Linked DNA regions of Homo sapiens: all the other regions are linked to region 3. Evidence: promoter capture Hi-C in human tissues and cell types (Jung and others, 2019). All regions are on one chromosome and are shown on one strand. The core of a region is centred on a gene start or on the middle of the fragment in contact, and the rest is flanking DNA. Distances in the headings are between cores, read along the strand shown.

Region 1 (3,101 bases), core at 272-2,771, 530 kb after region 3:
GTCCCAAAGAAAATGGTCACTATTTTTCATTGCCTTCTCCTCCACTCCTTCCCCGGGGGACAACACCTGTTCCTGTTTATTAAGGAATGTGACAGATGCGTGTTCCTGCTGCTTCATGCATTTAATAAAATAGGAGGGCTGGTTCTTCTGGCTGGGTTTTATGTTTATTTCAGTTTGCTTTACAAAGTGGACACTTCCTAGTGCTTCAAACTCTCTCTTAGATTATATTTGTGATTGTACACTTAAATCTGCAGGCATTAGGAAATGAAAGAAGTTTCTAATTCTTAACTTTCATAGGACTCTAAAGTTAAAAGTATAAATGAATGGGACTTTAACCCCTTCTTTTCTGTCAGATTCCAACATGCTTCTTGCCTGCTTCCACGCTACTCCCAAGTCTGCTTTCTCTGTATGTGCCTCATAGCCTGTCAGGGGCCTTGAGGAGGTGTCAGATAATAAAGTGAGTCTGAGGACATGGCCAGCAGATGGGTCAACCGTTCCTGTCCCCCTTTCCCCATCTTCAGCCCTAATGAGGGGGGATTCTGCCCATGTCTCTGCCTTGAATCAAACAGCCCCATTTTGCCTAGCATCTGCTGAAGGAACTGCTCATCTTCTGACAACCCAGCTACTCAGTTTGTGATCGTAAAAATCACCGTTCTTCATCTGTGGATCAGCAGCTTCTCCTAACCTGTCTATTTCAGAGGCATTGCAAAGATTTTTCTTTCGGTTCATCCAGCTTAATGGCCAGAAGTTCCTCTGCAGAGTAAAAAACTGCTCCAAGCTTTTGCCCTCACTGCCTCTCACCCTCTATTTCTAAATTGGCCAGTATGTGTGAGCCCATTGTGGAAAGTCTGTTGCTGGGAAACACAAGGAAGCAACTTCCCCTGAACGGATCCTTTCAGTTTGTATAGACAAGAGTAACACTGGATTTAATGGGCAGTAGGTAGAGGGTAAGGGGATCGTTAGTATGTTTCCTCTGAAGAATCACCAGTAATATGAGTCAGCTGTAAATACCAGTTGATCAAATATTTTAGGGGCTGTAATCCCAGCACTTTGGGAGGCTGAGGCAGGCAGATCACCTGAGGTCAGGAGTTCGAGAACAGCATGGCCAACATGGAGAAACCCCATCTCTACTAAAAATACAAAAATTAGCCAGGCATGGCAGTATGTGCCTATAGTCACAGCTACTCGGGAGGCTGAGGCAGGAGAATCACTTGAACCCAGGAGGCAGAGGTTGCAGTGAGCTGAGATTGTGCCGCTGCACTCCACACTTCAGCCTGGGTGACAGAGCGAGACTCTGTCTCAAAAGAAAAAAAAAATTAGAGGAAAAGATGAAAGGGTTGAGATGAAGAACTGAAAGATGAACATCTCCCTACCCTCCAACCTATTAGGAAAGATAAATTGTTCTTAGAAACTGTGGGGGCAGAAGGAGTCCTGGAAGAATCTAGAAATGAGAATTCTCATAAGGCAAAGAGGGATTTATGCTGTTATTAGAGCTTGAAGAGTTGAAGAATGACACAGAGAAGTTGTTTCACTGGAGCAGTCGGAAAAAATACGAAGATTTGCCAGCACTGGTGAATATAAAAGTTTCAGGAAAGAGAAGTCCATTCTGACTGGAACAATAAAAAGAAGTCACTGGGTCCATCAGATCCAAGGAAAAGACAGAGCCTGTGGTTGAGACTCCCCACTGCAGTGTTCAGTGGTGGCCATGCTGACTTGACATAATTCTCCCCACAACCCTCCACAAATTATCTACCTGGACATGGTAGGCTCCAGACAGCATTCATCTGGCCAAGGTTCAGCTGATCTCCTCTTTTGCTGATTTGCGTGGAAAACGGTGAAACAGAAGAAATCCAAGTGGATCTCTACTGACTTAAAACACCTGAGTAGGAAATAAAACACACCCTTCCCTCCATTAAAGTCCAGGACTGGGAGATGAAGGAGGGTGACTACACAGCATCAAAGAGCAGAATTTGGTCATCTGGGCCTCATATGACCTCCTGAAACAAATTAAAATGTAGCTAATGAAGACTGCAAAGAAAGAGTTTGCCACTGAGCTCTCTGCTTCTACTCTCACCCTCTCCAAGTCAGCCTACCCCAGGCCACCTCATTACTGTTCACAAACATAATTTGGATCAAGATACATCTGACCTCTGAGACCTCTAGTGGCCCCCTTTCCAAATTGAATAATGTACCCATGTCTCAGCAAGGCATTCGGGGCTTCCACTCTGCATGGCCCCAAGCAGCCTTTCCAGTTTATCCCTCATTCCAGCCTCCATGCAGCCTGAGCTTCACCAAGATAGGCTATTGCCATTCCTTGGGGCCGCACATGCTGCCTCTCCTCCATCCTTTTGTTCCTGCTGTCTGCTCCCTCGACACATATCCTGCATCACCTCTTGACACCCAAATCCTACACATTCAAGACCCATCTCCAGCTCCTTCTGATATTCTTTCTAATATGACTTTGTACCTCTTAAGGAAGACATTCATCTTAGCTCACCTTGTACTTGAATTACTTCTAGGTCTTCTCTCCATTTGGTTGGGAGCTCTCTTGAGACAGGGACTATACAGCCCTTATCTTTGCATCTGCTGCAGCACCTAGCAAGGTGCCTTGTACATAGAAGTAGTTCATGGATAGATTGAAAAGAATAAATGGAGGCTGAGAAGAGTAGACTTGTTTGTGAAAAATGACATACACCATTGTGAAATTCTGGGATTCCACAATATCTGACACATAGTAGGTAATAAAAAAAAAATTATTTATTTATTTATGAGACAGAGTCTTACTCTGTCACCCAGGCTGGAGTGCAGTCGCTAGATATCGGCTCACTGCAGCCTCTGCCTCCTAGGTTCGACTGACTCTCCTGCCTCAGCCTCCCGAGTAGCTGGAACTACATGTGCGCACCACTACGCCCAGCTAATTTTTCTATTTTTTTAGTAGAGATGGGGTTTTGCCATATTGGCCAGGCTGGTCTCGAACTCCTGGCCTCAAGTGATCCTCCTGTCTCGGCCTCCTAAATTGCTGGGCTTACAGGTCTGAGCCACCACACTCAGCCAAAAAAAGATTTTTTTTTTTAATGAATAAATATTGAAGGGCTTTTGGA
Region 2 (3,139 bases), core at 640-3,139, 550 kb after region 3:
CCTGTCTCAAAAAAACAAACAAAAAAAAACATGGTTAGGCAATCACCAGTCCAGTTGCAAAGCAATGTTCATAGCAGGTAGCAAGGCTGCCACCAAAATGTGCCTTCAATGTGCCTTTCTCCTCCCACCCAGCCCAAGGAAGGCTGAAAGGAGAAGCGCAGGGGAGAGATGCAGGTACATAACTTAGGCACACTGACTCCCTGGGGCTCCTGCAGGCCCATGGTAATGTTAGTAACACTCAGCTGATTACCTTCGCTAGTAGTAAGCAATTAAGACGGTCTCTAGTAATCCCTCAATTGGAGAAACAACTGCATACATTTCACTGAACTGCATCTGGTTTTTATCTGTGAGGTAGAATTTTCCTCTTTCTGAAAGGGCAGGAAGTGGTCATGTTTTTTACATTAGTTGAAGTGGTTTAAAAAAAACAAAAAACAATCTCCAAGATTCCTAGAGCCTTGGAATAGCATGGACTTGACAGGACATGGAGGCAGGCACAGGCCCTGAGGGATTACATGGTAATGAAGAGGCACCGGCCCTGGCTTTGCCTTCTCGAGGTCTTTCTGATTGAGTAGTTGGTTTGCTGATGCTTTTGGAGGCATCTAACAGCCAGCTAAGTGGTCCAGGGACATAGTCCTTTCACAGAGATTTGCAAATTCCATGTCAGAATATCAGGGAGCTTATTACATTGAGAGGTAGGCTGGTTAATATCAAGGACCCTTTCAACATGCATGTGCCATTATTCTACAGCACAGCAAAGCCTACTAAAAAGCAACCTCAGATTGTGTGGTCAGGGATTCAGTGGGTAACTGGAGTTGGAAGCCTTTATTTCCTTTTATTATTTTTTCCACCAAAAGATAGTTAAATGACTAAACAAGTATGTGCAAATAGATGAAGAAAAGTTTGAGAGTGTTTTCTCGGTGTGGCTAAAGACTTTGAACTTTTTTGTCTCCAGTGCAAATACCATCCCTGCTACCCGGGCGTGCACTGCATAAATTTGTCTCCTGGCTTCAGATGTGACGCCTGCCCAGTGGGCTTCACAGGGCCCATGGTGCAGGGTGTTGGGATCAGTTTTGCCAAGTCAAACAAGCAGGTAGGCTGAAGTCATGGTTTCTATTCATTTCTCATCTTAACAAAACAACTGTGGTTGGTTCCCACCTCTTTGGTATAAACCTTTACCTCCATGAGCAGTCAAGGCCATGTGGAATGTCATGGTGCAAAATGAGCAAATTAGGAAGTTTTTCAACCATTTCTGAGTATTTACATTTATAAAATCTAGAAGGGAGGAAGCTTTTAAGAGGGGATAATAGAGTATCACTAGAAAAACAGTAAATGGGGTAATATGGCTATTGGCATAATTTCAGTCTTATTTTGTTGATAGCTGTTGAGCATTTTGTCCTGCAGAATAAGTTGAGAACCACGGAGACAAAAGCTTTGAAAAATTAGGTCACTTTTGTAGAGTCATTGTTGCCAATCGAAGCTGTTTCAGAGATGAGGGGATTTTAAGAGTAGAAATAATCCCCCAAGGCAACCTCCCCTTTTTCTTATGTAAGCTATAAATTGCCATAAAGCACTTGAGTACTTCTTGACAGTCTCCATTTATTTCCCAATGCTCTACTATATTCTGGTCATTATTTAACTGACTGACTGTGAAATTCTTTTTGATGTTTTTAGCCCTTAAAAATGGTTGTTCTATAAATATATTTTACTACCTTAGGGAAATTATTAGCTTTGAAGAAGGGCAGGGGTTTATTATTTCCTAGCTGCCTATCAAAGGGTTCTAGAGGGCATGATTTTTTTAAGTTATTGTTATACTTTAAGTTCTAGGGTACATATGCACAACGTGCAGGTTTGTTACATATGTATACATGTGCCATACTGGTGTGCTGCACCTGTTAACTTGTCATTTACATTAGGTATATCTCCTAATGCTATCCTTCCCCCCTCCCCCTACCCCATGACAGGCCCTGGTGTGTGACATTCCCCACCCTGTGTCCAAGTGTTCTCATTGTTCAATTCCCAACTAAGAGTGAGAACATGCGGTGTTTGGTTTTCTATCCTTGCGATAGTTTGCTCAGAATGATGGTTTCTAGCTTCATCCATGTCCCTACAAAGGACATGAACTCATCCTTTTTTATGGCTGCATAATATTCCATGGTGTATATGTGCCACATTTTCTTAATCCAGTCTATCATTGATGGACATTTGGGTTGGTTCCAAGTCTTTGCTATTGTGAATAGTGCCACAATAAATATACGTGTCCATGTGTCTTTATAGCAGCATGATTTATAAGCCTTTGGGTATATGCCCAGTAATGGGATGGCTGGGTCAAATCGTATTTCTAGTTCTAGATCCTTGAGGAATCGCCACACTGTCTTCCACAATGGCTGAACTAGTTTACAGTCCCACCAACAGTGTAAAAGTGTTCCTATTTCTCCACATTCTCTTCAGCACCTATTGTTTCCTGACTTTTTAATGATCGCCATTCTAACTGGTGTGAGAAGGCATCTCATTGTGGTTTTGATTTGCATTTCTCTGATGGCCAGTAATGGTGAGCATTTTTTCATGTGTCTGTTGGCTGCATAACTGTCTTGAGAAGTGTCTGTTCATATCCTTTGCCCACTTTTTGATGGGGTTGTTTGATTTTTTTCCTATAAATTTGTTTAAGTTAAGTTCTTTGTAGATTCTGGATATTAGCCCTTTGTCAGATGGATAGATTGTAAAAATGTTCTCCCATTCTGTAGGTTGCCTGTTCACTCTGATGGTAGTTTCTTTTGCTGTGCAGAAGCTCTTGAGTTTAATTAGATCCCATTTGTCAATTTTGGCTTTTGTTGCCATTGCTTTAGGTGTTTTAATCATGAAGTCCTTGGAGGGCATGATTTTTTAGACTAGAAAAGGGAGGCCAGCTAGACATATAGGAATGATAAGAAGCTGTTAAGAGTCCTCTAAAGACAAAATCTCTAAGAACAAACCAAGGAAACATAAGGTACTTGGTGTAAGGTAGTAAGGAGCACTTCTCAATAGATTTCCAGTAACAAGGCAGACAGAACTGAAGTGGAAGGGAGCCACCTTGCTAAATTTAACAGCAAATGTTACTGCATTCCAAAGTCAAAGAAAATAAAAGGAAATGGCGCAGTGTCCA
Region 3 (3,392 bases), core at 865-3,364:
ACAGTGTGAAGAGTTAATAAAAGACTGGAAAATGCACTCTCAGTTGGCTCTGGGTCCGAAGGAAGGTGTAGATCTGATACTGTTAACTCAAACTGAAGGGCTGAGCTTAAAAGCGAAAAACAAAAGGAGTGAACAAGTTCCTTAAACAAAAAGCTTTTTCCTACGAAATGCACCCGTACCGTGGTGACCGCATCAGTAAGACTGAATTTCAGATTTTCGTTTTAACGCCCCAGTAAATCAATTCTATACATTTTAGCTTTGAATATTCAAGGACAAGACAGAGGGCACGGTGAGGGCAACAATTTACTCTGGATCACTTTCAAGGACTGTTGTCTAACCACTCATTAAAATCGTTCCTTTGTGCAACTGATTATCTAAAAGTACTGAGAGAATGCAGTACTTCTCTTTGAAAGATAACCGTCAGCAAAAGCTAAAATAATGTGATTTTGATTACAAACTGATGCAGCAGTCTGACCAGTAAAGTGTAGAATGCGTTGTCTTTGTAAACATTACTCACAAATCCATATTCAAGTTACAAACGATATATGTGTTTTTAAATTATGACCTCTGGTACCGCTCTACAAAAATGCAAAAATAACCTAAAAGGTTAGCATGCCTATTTCTTTAAAGTATGACCAGCTTAGCAAGGTGGCAAGTTTGTTTGAAAACACAAAACACAATCACCACCACCGCTCAATAATACACATACATAAACAGATTCGAAGCTGTGTTAAGCACAAAAATCCTTACCCCATTTTGCCCAATGAAAACTTGCTCTGAAGTTTCAGCTCTTATGCTACGGAATAACTTCCAAAGGAATTTCTCCGTCTGCTATTTCGCAGTTGCTTTTCCACCCCCACCCCCAGATCCTTGTCCGGAGGTATTTCAAGGATGCTGCCAATTCAATTAGTTCTCTTAGGTAAAATGATTTCTCTCTTGTAAATACCAAAACGTTCAAACAGAGGCGGCATTTGCTTATTCGAGTTAAAATGCTTTGCGGAGGAGACAGCGATCAACTCTATTCCACAAAATGAGTCTACAAGTAGGGAAATGCAGAATCCGGCTTCACCGAGTCCTATAAAAAATGAGTTCGCTGGTCATTTCACTCATGTCCTCCTCGACACTCAGGGAGAGCCAGGTAACTCGGCCTTTTCGGAGCTAAGGCTGCGGGTTCAAATTTCTCCACCACACCAGGTCTCCGGGGGTGGAGCGAGCAACCAAACGCGACGTGCACGTGAATAAAAATCCCAAAAGCAGTAATGCCACGGCTTCCCTGCGCTCACATTAGGAAAAAAACTACACAGGAAAATCTCCTCGAAGTGCAAACCCGGCAGCTCGCAACCTGCACGGCACTCCACATTGGAATCTGTCTTTTTAAATGTTTCTCCTCCTAAGACTCGGAGCAGAGAAGAGGTGGGGAGGACGAAGAGAAGGCTAGGCAGGATCGATTCATTCTCCCGAAGAGAATAAACGGAGCCATTTCCAGGCTGGCAGCAGGCTGGGGGCGCAGCGCACGCCGGAGAGCTGGAGGAGGGGACCCGATCCCACCTCCCTCAGCCCCTTCCCGCCCCCCGCCGCCGAGCACAATGGAGCCCGGCTGGTGCCCGGCCCTTCATTCGCGGCTGCCCCCTCTTCCCTCCTCTCTTCAGAGCACAGCGGGTCTGAGGCTCCCGTCGGCGGAGAATGAATGAATCACAGAGCCAAGCCCCACGCTTCCACTGGCACCCTGCCCCCAGCTCCAGGGCGGGCGAAAGGGGCCGAAGGGTCGACGGGCGCCTGCCCGAGCCAAGGCGGGAGGCTAAGCCCGCGTTGGGGCCAGGAGAGCTGGGCTCGAAGCCGAAGCGCAGCCGCCGCTCCAGCGCCCCCACCCCTACTCCTCGTCTCTCACGCTCCGCGCCGCCGCCACGCGCCGCCTCACATTCCCCGGGCCCCGCCGCCGCCTCTTCACACTTCCATCAGCGCCCGCCTCCGGCTACCGCCGGGCAGAGCAGCGCCAGCCCCGGCGGCCTGAAGCCTGCCGCTGCCTCCGCCTCCGCCGGCCGGCCGGCTGGCAGAGAAGAGGGTGCTGCTTTCCCGGTCAGCGCCGCCGGCGTGAAGCTAGCGCGGCGGCAGAGTGGGCTGCGGGGGGCGGGAAGGGGGCGGAGAGAACGGGGAGCGAGGGCGGTCCCTCCCTCTGCTCGCGGGAAGGGACGGGAGGCGGTGGCCGCCGCGGAGCCGCGGCCGGGGGCTGGGGCGCGGACTGGTCCCGGGAGCCCGACGGGCCTTGCGAGCAGCGGGCCGCGGGAGAAAGCAGCAGCCGCAAGGCGGCGGAGAGGCTGATGGTGGGGGGCCGAGCGGCCCTCGTGGGGAGCTGGGCCGGCGGCAGGCCCTCAGTCCGTTCGTCCTTCTTTTCCCCCCTCCCCTAGAGGCTGGCGGCTGGCTGGCCGTGCGCTCTGCTCCTCCTCTGGCTCTTGGCCCCGCTCCCGACCGCCACAGCCTCCTCCGCGCCCCACACCAGGTGCTCGCGCTGTGTCTCCATCCTCCCCGCAGGAGGACCTTTAAATAGCAACGTCAGCGCGCTTCTCTCCGCACACACGTCACCCGCAGCTCACGTCACCGAGGTGCGGGGGATGATGTCACGCGGCCGGAAGTACTGCTAAATTAGGGAAGGAGCAGGGGGAGGAGGACTCGGCGAGCTCCTGTGTGCCCACCTGCTCTCACTTCTCCTTAAAGGCCAAAGCACAGGAGACAGCCCGAGAGGAGCTCGAACAAGGAAGCGGCGGGAGGAGGAGATTTCCTTGCAACAAATGTGCCAAACCTGAGTGAATCATTCGTAGCAAAAGTGCAGTGTCAAGCGGGTAATAGCCTATCTCCCACTCCCACCGCTATTGCAGCAGCACCCCCGGGCTTCTCTTGTCCTGACTAGCAGGGAAATGTGGGAGGGAGAGCCTGATCACACTGCTGGTAGATGTGCTTCCAACAGGACTTCGGAAAAATCACCTAAATTTTCAATTATAGAGTGCCATTCTGGACATAGTCGACTTTTAAACTTTTTGTTAGTGGTTACCTGAAACACGAAAGAATAAAGAGCAGAGCAATAAGCAAACGAAATAATGTTATAAAGGATAGTAATTTTATTTGCAAAATAGCAGTTTTGACATAGGAAAATGAGTCAATCTTAGTTCACGTATAGCAAATGCCAGTGTGTCCTCTCAGTTTCTCTTCATCAAGAATATGAGTTCCATGACACTTGGCTCCAGCCAGTAAAACAAGAAAGAGAAAAAGTATATGGGTTTCAGTCTGTGGAATTTAAATTAAAATTTAAAAATTAAAAATAAGAAAGAGCACCAAATCCTTTTTCATTAACACAAGCATATTTTCGTCTTCTTTAGTTTTGACCACATAATATGTAA

The links. The method cuts DNA at HindIII sites, captures the fragments that hold promoters and counts their contacts. A contact is called where the count stands out against the background at its distance.
Region 1: a fragment that was not itself captured here is called in contact with the fragment with the promoter of HOMER1 in region 3 in 1 of the 25 tissues and cell types used here (dorsolateral prefrontal cortex).
Region 2: a fragment that was not itself captured here is called in contact with the fragment with the promoter of HOMER1 in region 3 in 1 of the 25 tissues and cell types used here (IMR-90 fibroblasts).

The regions. Positions count from the first base shown.
Region 1 is chr5:80,041,672-80,044,772 of GRCh38, forward strand. All of the region lies in intron 2 of THBS4 (thrombospondin 4), which reads left to right. Among named protein-coding and RNA genes, the nearest start is that of THBS4, 7.9 kb to the left of the region's middle. The HindIII fragment of the contact is 6,867 bases long and covers 1-3,101 here.
Region 2 is chr5:80,060,743-80,063,881 of GRCh38, forward strand. It overlaps THBS4 (thrombospondin 4), which reads left to right. Exons shown (of 22, transcript NM_003248.6): 8 at 953-1,090. Among named protein-coding and RNA genes, the nearest start is that of THBS4-AS1, 21 kb to the right of the region's middle. The HindIII fragment of the contact is 6,774 bases long and covers 1-3,139 here.
Region 3 is chr5:79,512,020-79,515,411 of GRCh38, forward strand. It overlaps HOMER1 (homer scaffold protein 1), which reads right to left and starts at 2,115. Exons shown (of 9, transcript NM_004272.5): 1 at 751-2,115. The coding sequence starts at 755. RefSeq lists a silencer at 1,688-2,397 and enhancers at 2,392-2,939, 2,648-2,837. The HindIII fragment of the contact is 12,079 bases long and covers 1-3,392 here.